Linked DNA regions of Homo sapiens: region 1 is linked to region 2. Evidence: promoter capture Hi-C in human tissues and cell types (Jung and others, 2019). All regions are on one chromosome and are shown on one strand. The core of a region is centred on a gene start or on the middle of the fragment in contact, and the rest is flanking DNA. Distances in the headings are between cores, read along the strand shown. Region 1 overlaps MAPKAP1 (MAPK associated protein 1). Region 2 holds the start of ZBTB34 (zinc finger and BTB domain containing 34).

What was found. The method cuts DNA at HindIII sites, captures the fragments that hold promoters and counts their contacts. A contact is called where the count stands out against the background at its distance.
Region 1: a fragment that was not itself captured here is called in contact with the fragment with the promoter of ZBTB34 in region 2 in 1 of the 25 tissues and cell types used here (dorsolateral prefrontal cortex).

Annotation. Positions count from the first base shown.
Region 1 is chr9:125,489,560-125,495,429 of GRCh38, forward strand. All of the region lies in intron 8 of MAPKAP1 (MAPK associated protein 1), which reads right to left. Among named protein-coding and RNA genes, the nearest start is that of MAPKAP1, 210 kb to the right of the region's middle. RefSeq lists an enhancer at 5,453-5,870. The HindIII fragment of the contact is 6,822 bases long and covers 1-5,394 here.
Region 2 is chr9:126,857,935-126,863,902 of GRCh38, forward strand. ZBTB34 (zinc finger and BTB domain containing 34) reads left to right here and starts at 2,705. Exons shown (of 2, transcript NM_001099270.4): 1 at 2,705-2,805. RefSeq lists silencers at 2,324-2,723, 2,754-2,833, 2,844-2,893, 3,004-3,223 and an enhancer at 2,848-3,645. The HindIII fragment of the contact is 9,457 bases long and covers 1-5,968 here.

The sequences.
Region 1 (5,870 bases), core at 734-3,233, 1.4 Mb before region 2:
TGACAATCACAATGTAGGAAGGTATGGAGGACAAGCAGAAAACCCAGGAGGAGAAGCAGCTTAAGTCTCGGGAATACAAAATCAGGAAAGGAGAACTGAGGAATGAGGCCTCACACCTGTCTTCAGTGAAGAATGGCAAGAAGAGGCCACGGCAGGCAAAGGGAAGCAGAGAGGAGTTGAGGAAGGAGGCAGGTGGAGTCTAGGGCCTGCAGCCAAGAAAGAAAGAGAAGGTGCTGGGAGGCAGCCTTGGGGATTAATAACATTAGAAAGAACATGGAATATAAGAGTACAGAGATAGAGATTCAAACTGTCACTCAAAGTGTCAAGACTGGGTCAAAACCTTGCCCAGGGTTCCACTGTTAGGAAAGGTGAAACCGGGACAGATCTGTTGGACTCTGGAGTCCACGTGCCTTCTCCTTTCCCTTCCCTCAAGTGGTTAAAGGCTGCTCCTGCCCTGCCTACCTCACCACACTCCTACAGCAACAGCACTGTAATAGACTGTTGAGTCGAATAACTGTAAATTCTAAATTAGTGGTTCTCAAAGTGCACACTGGGTCCTATGGTGGTGGTGGTGGTGGGGAATTCCCAAGTCCCCTTCAGGGTCCATAATTGCAATACTATTTTTATAACAACAGCAAGACATGACTTACTTTTTTCATGTCCATTCTCTTACAAGTGCACAAAGGAATAAAAAGCTTGGCTGGGCGCAGTAGCTCACACCTGTAATCCCACCATTTTGGGAGGCCGAGGTGGGTGGATCACCTGAGGTCAAGAGTTCGAGACCAGCCTGACCAACATGGTGAAACCCCGTTTCTACTAAAAATACAAAATCAGCTGGGTATGGTGGCATACGCCTGTAATCTTAGCTACTTGGGAGGCTGAGGCAGGAAAATCGCTTACACCCGGGAGGCAGAGGTTGCAGTGAACCAAGATTGCGCCACTGCACTCCAGCCTGGGCAACAAGAACGAAACTCTGTCTCAAAAAACAAAACAAAACAAAACAAACCAACAAAAAAACAACAACAAAATAGAAACTATCATTTGAGTTTTGGTATAGTAACAAAAATTAATACCCACAATTATCTGAAAAGGCTATTGAAATATTCTTCCCTTTTTCAACAACATATCTGTGTCAGGCCAAATTTTCTTCACATACTTTAACCAAAGCAATGTATTGCAGCGGACTGAATGCAGAGGCAGATATGAAAATCCAGGTGTCTTCTATAAGCCCAGACATTACAGAAACTTGCAATATAATAAAATAATGACACTCTTCTCATTAAAAATTTTAGGCCTGGCTAGGTGCAGTGGCTCACACCTGTAATCCCAGCACTTTGGGAGGCCAAGGTGGGCGGACCACTTGAGGTCAGGAATTTGAGACCACCCTGGCCAACATGGTGAAACCTCGTCTCTATAAAAATACAAAAAATTAGCTGAGGATGGCGGGGCATGCCTGTAATCTCAGCTACTCTGGAGGCTGAGGCAGGAGAATCGCTTGAAGCCAGTAGGCGGAGGCTGAAGTGAGAGCTGAGATTACACCACTGCACTCCAGCCTGGGCGACAGAGCAAGACTCCGTCTCAAAAAAAAAAAAAAAAAATTTAGGCCAGGTGCGGTGGCTTATGAATATAATTCCAGCACTTTGGGAGGCTGAGGTGGGTGGATTGCTTGAGTCTAGGAGTTTGAGACCACCCTGTGCAACACGGCAAAACTCTGACTCTACAAAAAATACAAAAATTAGCTGGGTTTGGTGGCTCATGCCTGTACTCCCAGCTACTGAGGATGAGGTGGGATGATCACTTGAGCCCAGGAGGTTGAGGCTACAGTGAGCTGTGATCACGCCACTGCACTCTAGCCTGGGTAACAGAGTGAGACCCTGTCTCAAAAAAATTTTTTTTAAAGAAATTATAGTTACTTTTCATAAAATTTGTCATTTGGGCCAGGCATGGTGGCTCACCCCTGTAATCCCGGCACTTCTGGAGGCCAAGGCAGGTGAATTACTTGAGTCCAGGAGTTTAAAACCAGCCTGGGCAACATGGCAAAACCCCATCTCTACAAAAAATACAAAAAAAAAGCAGCCAGGCTTAGTGGTGTGCTCCGATAGGCCCAGCTACTGGGGAAGCCGAGGTGGGAGGATCGCTTGAGCCTAGGAGGTGGAGGTTGCAGTGAGCTGTGATTGTACTACTGCATTCTAGCCTTGTGACAGAGACCCTATCTCAAAAAAAACCAAAAAAACAAAAAAAAACAAAAAAACATAAAACTGTCATTAACATTAATGAAATTACTGTTTTTCAATAAATATTTTAAAATTAATCAATTTTTAATAGATGTAACTCAATAAACAAAAGCTTGGCCAGGTGCAGTGCCTCACACCTGTAATACCAGCAGTTTGGGAAGCCAAAGCGGGAGCACTGTTTGAGGCCAGGAGTTGAAGAGCAGCCTGAGCAACATAGTGAGACTTTATCTCTACTGAAAGTTAAAAAAAAAAAAAAAAAAGTCAGCTGGGCATGGTGGTGCACACCTGTAGTCCCAGCTGCTCGGGAGGTAGAGATGAGAGGATCACTTGAGCCCAGGAGTTTGAGGCTACAGTGAGCTGATTTGCCACTGCACTCCATCCTGGGCGAGACCTGGCGACAGGGCAATACCTCGCCTCAAAATAACAAAACAAAACAAAAGCTCTTTGGGTCTTCAATAACTTTTAAGAGTATAAAGAGGTCCTAAAACCAAAAAGTTTGAGAACTGCTGACTTTATTGGTTATAATGCCATGTTTTCATTGCCCCTGATATCTATTTGGACAATAATAATGGGAAACGAAAGTGCAGTTATAGCTGTGTATATGTGTTATAATCTGACAACAAACACAGCTGCAAAGCCTGTACACACATAAAAGCAATAGGTTTACTTTCAGGTGATCAGACCAAGGCTAATTATAAATACTGTTTTATAGTTTTAAAAGTGTTTTCATAGATGTGATTTAATTGGAACTGAGGGAGACACTTAGAGTTATATGACTTTATTTCAAACAAATAGGACTAATCATTAAATCATAGCTCAGATGAACTCACCGTATATTACTGGAAGATTCCTTGTACTCATAGATACAAACTGCATGGGACTTTAACATTCATTTTATGGTTCAAGGAGTCTTACACCAAGTCTAAAAGGCCCCAATCTAGTTATAAATTAAAGCAACTTCAGTGTCTCTTCTCTAAAAAGATCTATGCCAACTCTAGAACTCAACTGGAAGATCAGTGGCCTCTGTTATATCCTCACCTTTGTCCATAGCACAATCCTGTTGACTGTTTCTTCTAGACTAGCAGTTACTTAGCTCCAGCCATATGCCAGGTGCTGTGCTAGTGCTTCCGGAATTTAGGGGGATGGCAGTGTTCCCAGATGATGAAAGGAGGACAGGCAATCCATGGAGGAATATAGGAAAAAACATAAAGTCCACAAAGCATGAGGACCTACACAGGGAACACCAAGTGTTTGCCTTTGGCACAGTGTGTGAAGCGGAATGGTGGAAAAGAAAATGGTGGGGGTGGGAGTAGTTCTTCAAAAGTGGAGCAGTATCTAGCTCAGCACCTGGCACACAATTAAGTAAAATAGTACAAGTGACTGACAATGAGAAGTACATAAACCCTTCTCTGCTCCACTCTATCTTGAAGTCTTATTGCTACTCCCCACGCAGAAGCCCTGCTTCAGCTAAACTGGACTCTGCTCAGGTTCTACCATTTGGTCAGAATGTCCTTTATGCTCTAAAATTTATATGCTTCAAGGTCTAGTCCAAATGGAACCTCCCCTGTCTCTCTCCTAAAGCATTATAGCCCTTTATTGAAGGTTCTTCTGGTAAGTATCTTACATGGTAAGTATTTGCACTCCCCTCCAGACAAGGAGCCTGAGGGCAGGAACATCCCATTCTACAAAGCACATGGTCACACAGTAGATGTTCAATAAATGCTGCTGATGGAACAAGTGAAGTGTGATGCAACACAGGTTAACCATTAACAGCACCTGAGGTTTGTACACCACCCCTTGTATTTACCTTGGCTAACAGCACCTAACATACCTTTCCTCGTTTTCCATTCAGACTCCCCAACAGACTAGGTTTGTCAAGGACAGGGGTTCTGCCTCAACAACTGTGACGGTGGCTAACACACACTAAGTGCTTAACGCATGCCAGCACGATGCTCAGCATTTTAAAGACGTCATCTCATTCCATTTTTCCCAATGCCTCTTTAAGTTGGATATTATCCTCTTTTTACAGGTGAGAAAAATGAGACTCAGAATGTCATTCTGCTACAGTAGTCATACAAACAGTACAAGCTGGAGCTAGGAACTGAACCCAGGTCTAATTCCAAAATTGCACCTTTAACCACCACACAACCTCTGTGAGTAAAAATGTTCCTCAGATGGGCTGGAAATGCATAACTCCATGGGCTGTAATGGTATCTAAGGAGAACACAGTCACGCCTGGCCATGCCAGAGCAAAGGAATCAGGGATAAAACCTAACTCTCCACTCCCTCGGTAAGACTTAAAGCTGGATGCATAAGTGAGTCACAGAGAAAACTCTTCCTTAGCGCTCTGCATCCATCACATTTTTTTTTCCAGAGGCCTTTTAAGTCCCCAAAGCCCCATAAGCCCAAAACTTCTCTTCTATTAAACACTTCCCTTTGGCTACTAGTTATTTTTGCTGGTCTCTAAAAAACAATCAATAGGTGATATACTAAAACACACACACACGTTCATGCCCCCCGCCTGCCCACCGCTCTGCAGTAATCTCTTTAAAGCCATCGGGATCACGCAGTAGGATATACCCTTCACTAGAATCTGCCATGCTACCACCGGGGTAGGGATCTTTGCTGTCAGTGCTTAATTGATTAAACTCTTGGAGCCAGAGCCAGCCAGGCTGGAGGACTTTCCACATGGAGATTTCAGACCCCCTTCAATAAATCAAGGTAATCTTGTTTTATGAGGTAGTCAGAAAGAAACAGTTTCAGGTTTGTAGAATTTCGAAAAAGAGCAGATCATGGAAGCGGGGCCTACGAGGCTCTGCATCTTAGACCCTTGCTATCCCTCAGTCTCATCTTTCAGCACACTCTCCCTCATTCCATTCCATTTATTCATTCCTAAACACCCCAAGCTCCTTCTCATCTCAAAGCCTTCAGATGAGCAGTCCCTTGGCCTGGAACATTCTTCTCTTACTCATTATTGGACTAACTCCTTTTTCTTCTTACTCAAGCCTCTCATTCTTCTCACCTGCTCTGGTCCCCTGCTATGCACTCTTTTCTACCCTTCACAGCACTGATCACAATTGTGTGCTCTATAACGTGGGGCTAAGTCTCAGCACAGTGGCTGGCCCAGAGGAGGGCTCAATCAATGTTTGGGGAATGCATGAACAAATATGTGCCCAAAGTGAATCCAATACCCTTTACAGGATGAAGCATGACCACTTAAGGGTCTGGACCAATGGTTCATTATGGGTTTGCTTGGAAGTTAGATTAGTGACAGAATTCTCATTATTTCCTCTTTCTCCAATATGTCTTTGTCCATGTTCAAAGCCCAGGAAAAGTAATGGGGTCTTCTCAGGAGCATGGCATTTTTGACAATTTACATGGCAAAATATCTAAGAACTGTAACATCTGATCAACACCAAGGTGTCCCTTTCCCTGACTCGAGAGTCAGAGGATGAGGGCATATCCGCTGGAAGAATCCCACCTCCCATTCAGAGTCACTGCAGAAATGTCACCTGATGCATTACCAAACCATTAGTCAGGACCTTCAGGGCGAATTCTGGGGCCAGGAGCCTATCAGAGGGATGCAAATCTCCATGCCCTCACTTAGAGCCCAGACAGGGTTTGTGGCTCATCAAA
Region 2 (5,968 bases), core at 1,455-3,954:
CAGACTCACACATGCCAAGCACTTCACAGGCTACCTCAATTAACACATGACATGGCGAGGAGGCTGGAGATGTGTTTTAGCCATGTGCTGTGGAAGAAGAAAAGGCAGAACACAAGTATTGGTAAGCTATCAGCCATCACCCTCACATAGGCTGACCCCCACGATGGGAAGCCCCACACCTTTTTTTTTTTTTTTAAGAGAGGGTCTTACACTGATGCCCAGGCGGGAGTGCAGTGTGGTGATCATGGCTCACTGCAGCCTTGACCTCCAGGGCTCACGCGATCCTCCACCTCAGCCTCCCAAGTAGCCGAGACCACAGCCACGTGGCACCACACTCAGCTTTTTTTTTTTTCTTTTTTGTAGAGATGAGGTTTCACTATATTGCCCAGGCTGGTCTCACACTCCTGGACTCAAGTGATCCTCCTGTCTCAACCTCCCAAAGTGTTTGGGATTACAGGCATGAGCCACCCCACCTGGCCAGAAAACTCCTTCTTAACTGTGGATTGAAGGGCAACCCCAAACTTCAACAAAATGTGAATTGGATCATTTCATAAATGCTGCTGAGGAAAATGGGTAAGTGTGGAATAAATTAAAATGAGACTTGTACATCACTCCCTAGACTTCTTGATTTCAAGGGAGCTAACGAGTTAAATCATTTAAAACTGCCACAAAGATTATGGGAAAACAGAAACACATATGCACCTCAACTGTGGAGGAGTGACAGTTTTTTAACTAAAATTAGTAGAGACCATGACAATCAGCTAAACAACAAGAACGAAAAAAGCAAGGGGCTGGAAAAATATATAAATGATGAGTTTGGTGACCCAGTTAGGTGGGAGAGTAAATATAAACTATGAGGGAAATACCCAGCATCCAATGGACAGACAGAGGGCCAACAACTTTGAGACACTTGGCAGAGGAGGGTCAAAAACTCAGGAACTATTTTAGTCTTTATAGTACTTAATGATATGCAAATATTGTGTCACAGCCAAGAAGACCCTAACTCTTATCAACGAATTTAGCAAAAATCAGTTAAAATGATGAGGCCCAAGGCTGATCTGTAGGAAAACCTCTGGGCATAAGAATCAGCTCAGCAGTCCGGAGGAAACCTGACAAGATGATGTATTCCTGTGCCCTGGGTGCACACGTATCTCACCCTTGGGGACAGATCTCAAGAAAACAACTCAAGTGCAATAGCAATTCAAGAGCGAGACTACCTGTCTGCCCAGGTGCCTGCAGTTATAGGCAGGTTGCCTAAAATCCTATGCTTGGATGTTCTGTTGCTATAAGAAGTCAGAGAGACAAGGGAGTTCATCCCAAGTCTGCCATTTACTAGCTGTGTGACTTTGGATAAGTCACTCAACCTCTCTGAGCCTCAGTTCCCTCTTGGATTAAAATGGGAATAGATCGCCACCTCCTTAGGTTGTGTTAAATGAGGTCATGGCTGTCAAGTGTCTACACAGTGCCCTGCATGGAGTGTTTGACAAAGGGTAGCTGTTGCTATTGGAGGATGACCACTGGACAGATCCTGGAGAGACAGTTCCTGCTTGCAAAGGATGAAGTAACATCAGGAAGTCTCAGCAGCTTTCTATCCTGAAGAGGAGCTGGTATCTTTGCCTCCTAGTTTATTTTTATTACAAAGCCAGAAAAAGGAAAATAAACCTCTGCCACAACTACTGACTCCACCAAAATGCAAAGGGAAGCTCTTCAAAGAGTGTTACATTGGTCTAATGCTGGGAGGAAAACGCTGGGTGAGGCTCCCACTCCCACCCAACGGTTTGAAGACTGGGGTGTCCCCAAGGGTCTGGAAATGCACATTTTTTGAGGCATGCTCTGTGACATGGGTTTTATAACAGTGAGTTGGGAATTTTCACCTCCGTTTTGTTTTTGAGACAGGGTCTTGCTCTTTCACCACTGCTGAAGTACAGTGACACGATCATGGCTCATCGCAGCCTCGACCTCCCGGACTCAAGCGACCCTCCCACCTCAGCCTCCCCAATAGCTGGAACTACAGGCATGTGCCACCAAGCCTGGCTAAGTTTTAAAAATTTAAATGGGGCCTCCCTATGTTGCCCAGGCTGGTCTCAAACTCCTAGGATCAAGTGATCCTCCCGCCTCGCCCTCCCAAAGTGCTGGGATTACAGGCGGGAGCCACCTCCGTTTTGAGAGAGAGAAAACCTGCCCAAGGTGGTAAGTCAAGAGACCCCCTATGACAGGTCCCCAGAGCCCTGCTGCTAACCACTGCACCTTGCTGCCTTCAGCTGCCCTGCCAGGAGCAGCTCGGGTGCGTGGCATGCGCCTGAAGAGATGCAGGAGGGAGGGTCTTGGAAGGGAGGGCTGGGCTGGGGGCAGGCCCCCCAGTGCTGGGGGGGTCGAGGGTCCTGGGCTCTCTCCCACCCGTTCGATTCCGGGAGCCCCTGAAACGCGCCCCACTGCACCGCCCTTCTCCCGCCAGCAGGGGGCGCCGAGGAGAGCGCGGGCTGAAGGCAGAGCCGACGCCGCTTCCCGGAGTCGGGACTCCGGGGTCCAGACCAAGGCTGCCGCTAGCCCGCGGCGAGGCTCTGGGACGACAACCGGGCGGGACTCAGGACCCCGGGCCCTGGCTAGAGGTCCGCCGCGCAACGCCACCACCCGGGTTGGCGCCTGCCCGGAAGCGCGGGCGTCCAGGGGGCGGGGCCGGGAAGCGCTTCCGGGGGCGGGGGGCGCGGGCTGGGGCGGCAGCCGGAGCGGCGGGGACTGGCCTGGCGCCGGCGGCGGCGGAGGGGGCGCCGCGGGCGGGCGATGTGAGCGCGGCGCTCTGGACAGGTGAGGCACGCTGGCCGGGGGCGGCGAGCAGCGGGCTAGGCGCGGGCGGGGCAGGCGGGGCAGGCGGGGCGGGGGGCAGTCCCCGGGCCGCTGTCCGGCTCCCTCTGGGCGCGGCGGGGCGGGAGCCTCCGCGCCTGGTCAGTCCCGCGGGCAGGCGGCCGGCGCGGGCGGGAGCCGAGGCCGGGCGGGGTCCGGAGGCCCCGGGCACCTGCTGGGGTCAGGCGCGCGTCCCCGAGGGGCCAGCTGTGCTCGGTCCTGGAGTCCCGGCGCCGCTGGCCCGGCTGAGGGTCGCGCTCGGGCAGCTGCCCTGGGCTCCCAGCCTCCGCCCGGGGCGTCTCGGGATCCCCAGCTTCCGGGCCCCTAGCCCTGGGGGCGCTCCCTTTTGTACGGGGAGGGAGGGCAGATGGTTGAGTTCCCTGGAGAGCCGGCCGGGCCAGGGGTCGGCCCTTCGGGTGGCTGCCACGGAGCCGCTGCCTCACGCCACCGCCTTCCTCCAGGTAAACAGGCGGCGGCGACGGGTTGCGCTTGGCCCCAGACGTCTCCGTGGCCACTCGCGCTCAGTTGGTCCTGCCATTGCGGAGGGCTGGGCTGGGGCTGACCGGGGTTGTAAACAGTGCCCTTCTAGGCCAAGTGGCTGTGCTTTCAGGGCGGCACTCGTCTGGGAGTCTCTGTCTTGAGGCCTTCCGCAAGCCCCTTCCATGCTAGGACTCAGTTTCCCCATGTGATCATTGAGGGTTTCATTTAACTCTCTAAGAACCCTTCTGGCTCTGCCATTCCGTGTATGTCTCAAATTGGAAGGGCTGTCCCTGATTCAAGATACTGGGCAGTTTCGCTGAAGACTTTGTCAGTGTGGACTTTTTAAGCCACTTACTGCATTTTGTTTCAGACAGGCTTTAAAATGATTTCAAGAAGCGTTTTCTAAACCTCACCTTAATCCTCATTCATCCCTTGCTTTTGTCCCTAGTAGTAGTTAATCACATTCCGCCGAGTTTTTGCATGCAGAATTTTTTGTTGTTTATATTTGCCCATTTTCTCTTTGTTCCCTAGTCCAGGCCCTCTTTGCTTCACATCTGGATTATTGCAACAGCTTCTAAGCTGGTCGCTGACTCCAGAGGTTCCCCCCTCCCCCATCCTTCCTTTATGCTAAAGCCAAACTTACTATAGGAAGTCAAAAAATAGTTGAGTGCTTGCTTGCTTATTAAATGGCAAGATGCTGTTCCATGTGGTGGGAAAGTAGTAGAAGGCACACTTACAGTCTCCAGGCAGCTTTACACAGGGTGCTGAGACATTACTTATGAAAAGGTAATTTTGATGAGACAAGGCTGTGTGCTGTAGAATTAAGAAGGAGAGATGGAGGTCACTGTAGGCCGAGTGGTTAGGGAGGGTTTAGTGAGGGGCGGGATTTGAGCCGGGTGTTAAAGGATGAGTAGCATTCAGATAGGAAAAGAGGAATCAGGCCCAGTGATCCTATGGAGTTAGTGAATAGACCAGTCTCCTGGCAGAGAAGGGTTCATATAGGAGGGAAGTAGGAGGAGAGGTGGGCCGCGGCTAGTTCCTCAACTCAAACACTAGGTCAAAGTTGAAACTACTGAAGGCATTGGTGAAGAAGCTAGAGGCCAGGAGATCAGTTAAGAGGCCACGGCAGTTATACCACTGTTCAAAGCTGAGTAGTGGCCTCTTGCCTGCCACGGTATGTCCAGCCACCGCCCACCCTGTCTTTTCAAGACTCTCCGTGGTTTGGCCCCACCCCACCTACCTGAACCTTATTCTCTGCTTCTCCAAGTCTGTCCCCTGCAGAACTGAGTTAGTTACGGCTTCTTGGGTTTTGCTTCTGTTGTTCCCCCTTCTGAAGCACTGGCCTCCTTTTTCTTTTCTGTGCAAATTCTCCATTTCACTTCCTTCAAGCCCCTGCTGCAGATATACTTCCTCCAGAGGGTGTTCCCTGACTTCCCTGCCCCCATGGCTTTGTGGCACTCGGATTCAGCACTTGTTCCTTGGCTGTTGAACTTGTTCTTGTCCCAACTGGAGTGGGAGTTTTTTTAAGGGCATTGTGTCTTAATACTCCTCTCGGAGACCTTATAGTATCTAATACTGGGGCTGGACTTCTATAATAGGTACTCAAATACTTCCTGATTTTTGTTGGTAAACAACTTTTTGTTTTGTTTTGTAATTTGCCTTTTTTTTTTTTTAAGGAGAATCTGTTTTTATCAGCTTTCTGTGTCATAGATAAGTGATATGTAATGCTACCATTCAAGGTGGATGTTTTCAGCTTGCTCTCTTAGGGTGCAGAAAGCACAAAACGAATCTTTGAAACTTTGAAACGTTTCCCTCTGATCATGGGAAAAGGTAAAAGTCATGTGATTCTTCATTCGGAGGCTGTGGGGAAAGAACAGCAGCTTTGGAATCAGAGACCTGGGTTTGAATCCTAGCAAGTCTGCTTACCAGCTCTGTGAAGTTGAGCAATTTATCTAATGCCTCTGAGCCTCCGTTTCTTATTTGCAGTGTGGAGGATAATAAAATCCAATGAACTGTAAACGAAAATGGAACGAAGTAGAAAAATGTGCAGCACCTAGTAACTGCTTAGTACATTTTCATTATTGTTATTGTCATTATTGGGTGTACATTTATCAAGGTGGAGAAATGATAAGCTGCTGAACTGTGTACCTACTGAGTTTTGGATTTCTGCACCGCTGTGTCCCCCCACTTTTGCCTTCCATTTGAAGCACTTGTCTAAAATGTCAGTACCATGAATCTAGTTACGTTTTATTCCCGTTAATGTTCATGTTACTTTAGTTTAAATTCTGCTTAATGTTTTTCAAACTTCTTAATTGTGTCTATTTAATGTTTTGTAGCTGACAAACTGCTGAATTTAGCTTAGTGAAGGTCATCAACTGAACGCAGTTAAATTTCTAATGGTTATTTTCTGGTTGATGTTGATGGCAAGGAAAACCTCATGGAAGAATGCAAGTCAAGGTGAGCTTTTCTAATCCTTTTGTCATAAGAGGCAGGACTTAATGTATTTTCCAGGGCCAGTGCCCCTGAAATGCTAGCCAGCAGTAAGCAGATAAGATGCTGTGCCTTACTATTTTTTAGTTATTTGCCTTAAGAAAGCTTATTTTATCTGAAACAAATCCTCTCAATTAATGATTAAAATATGAAACAT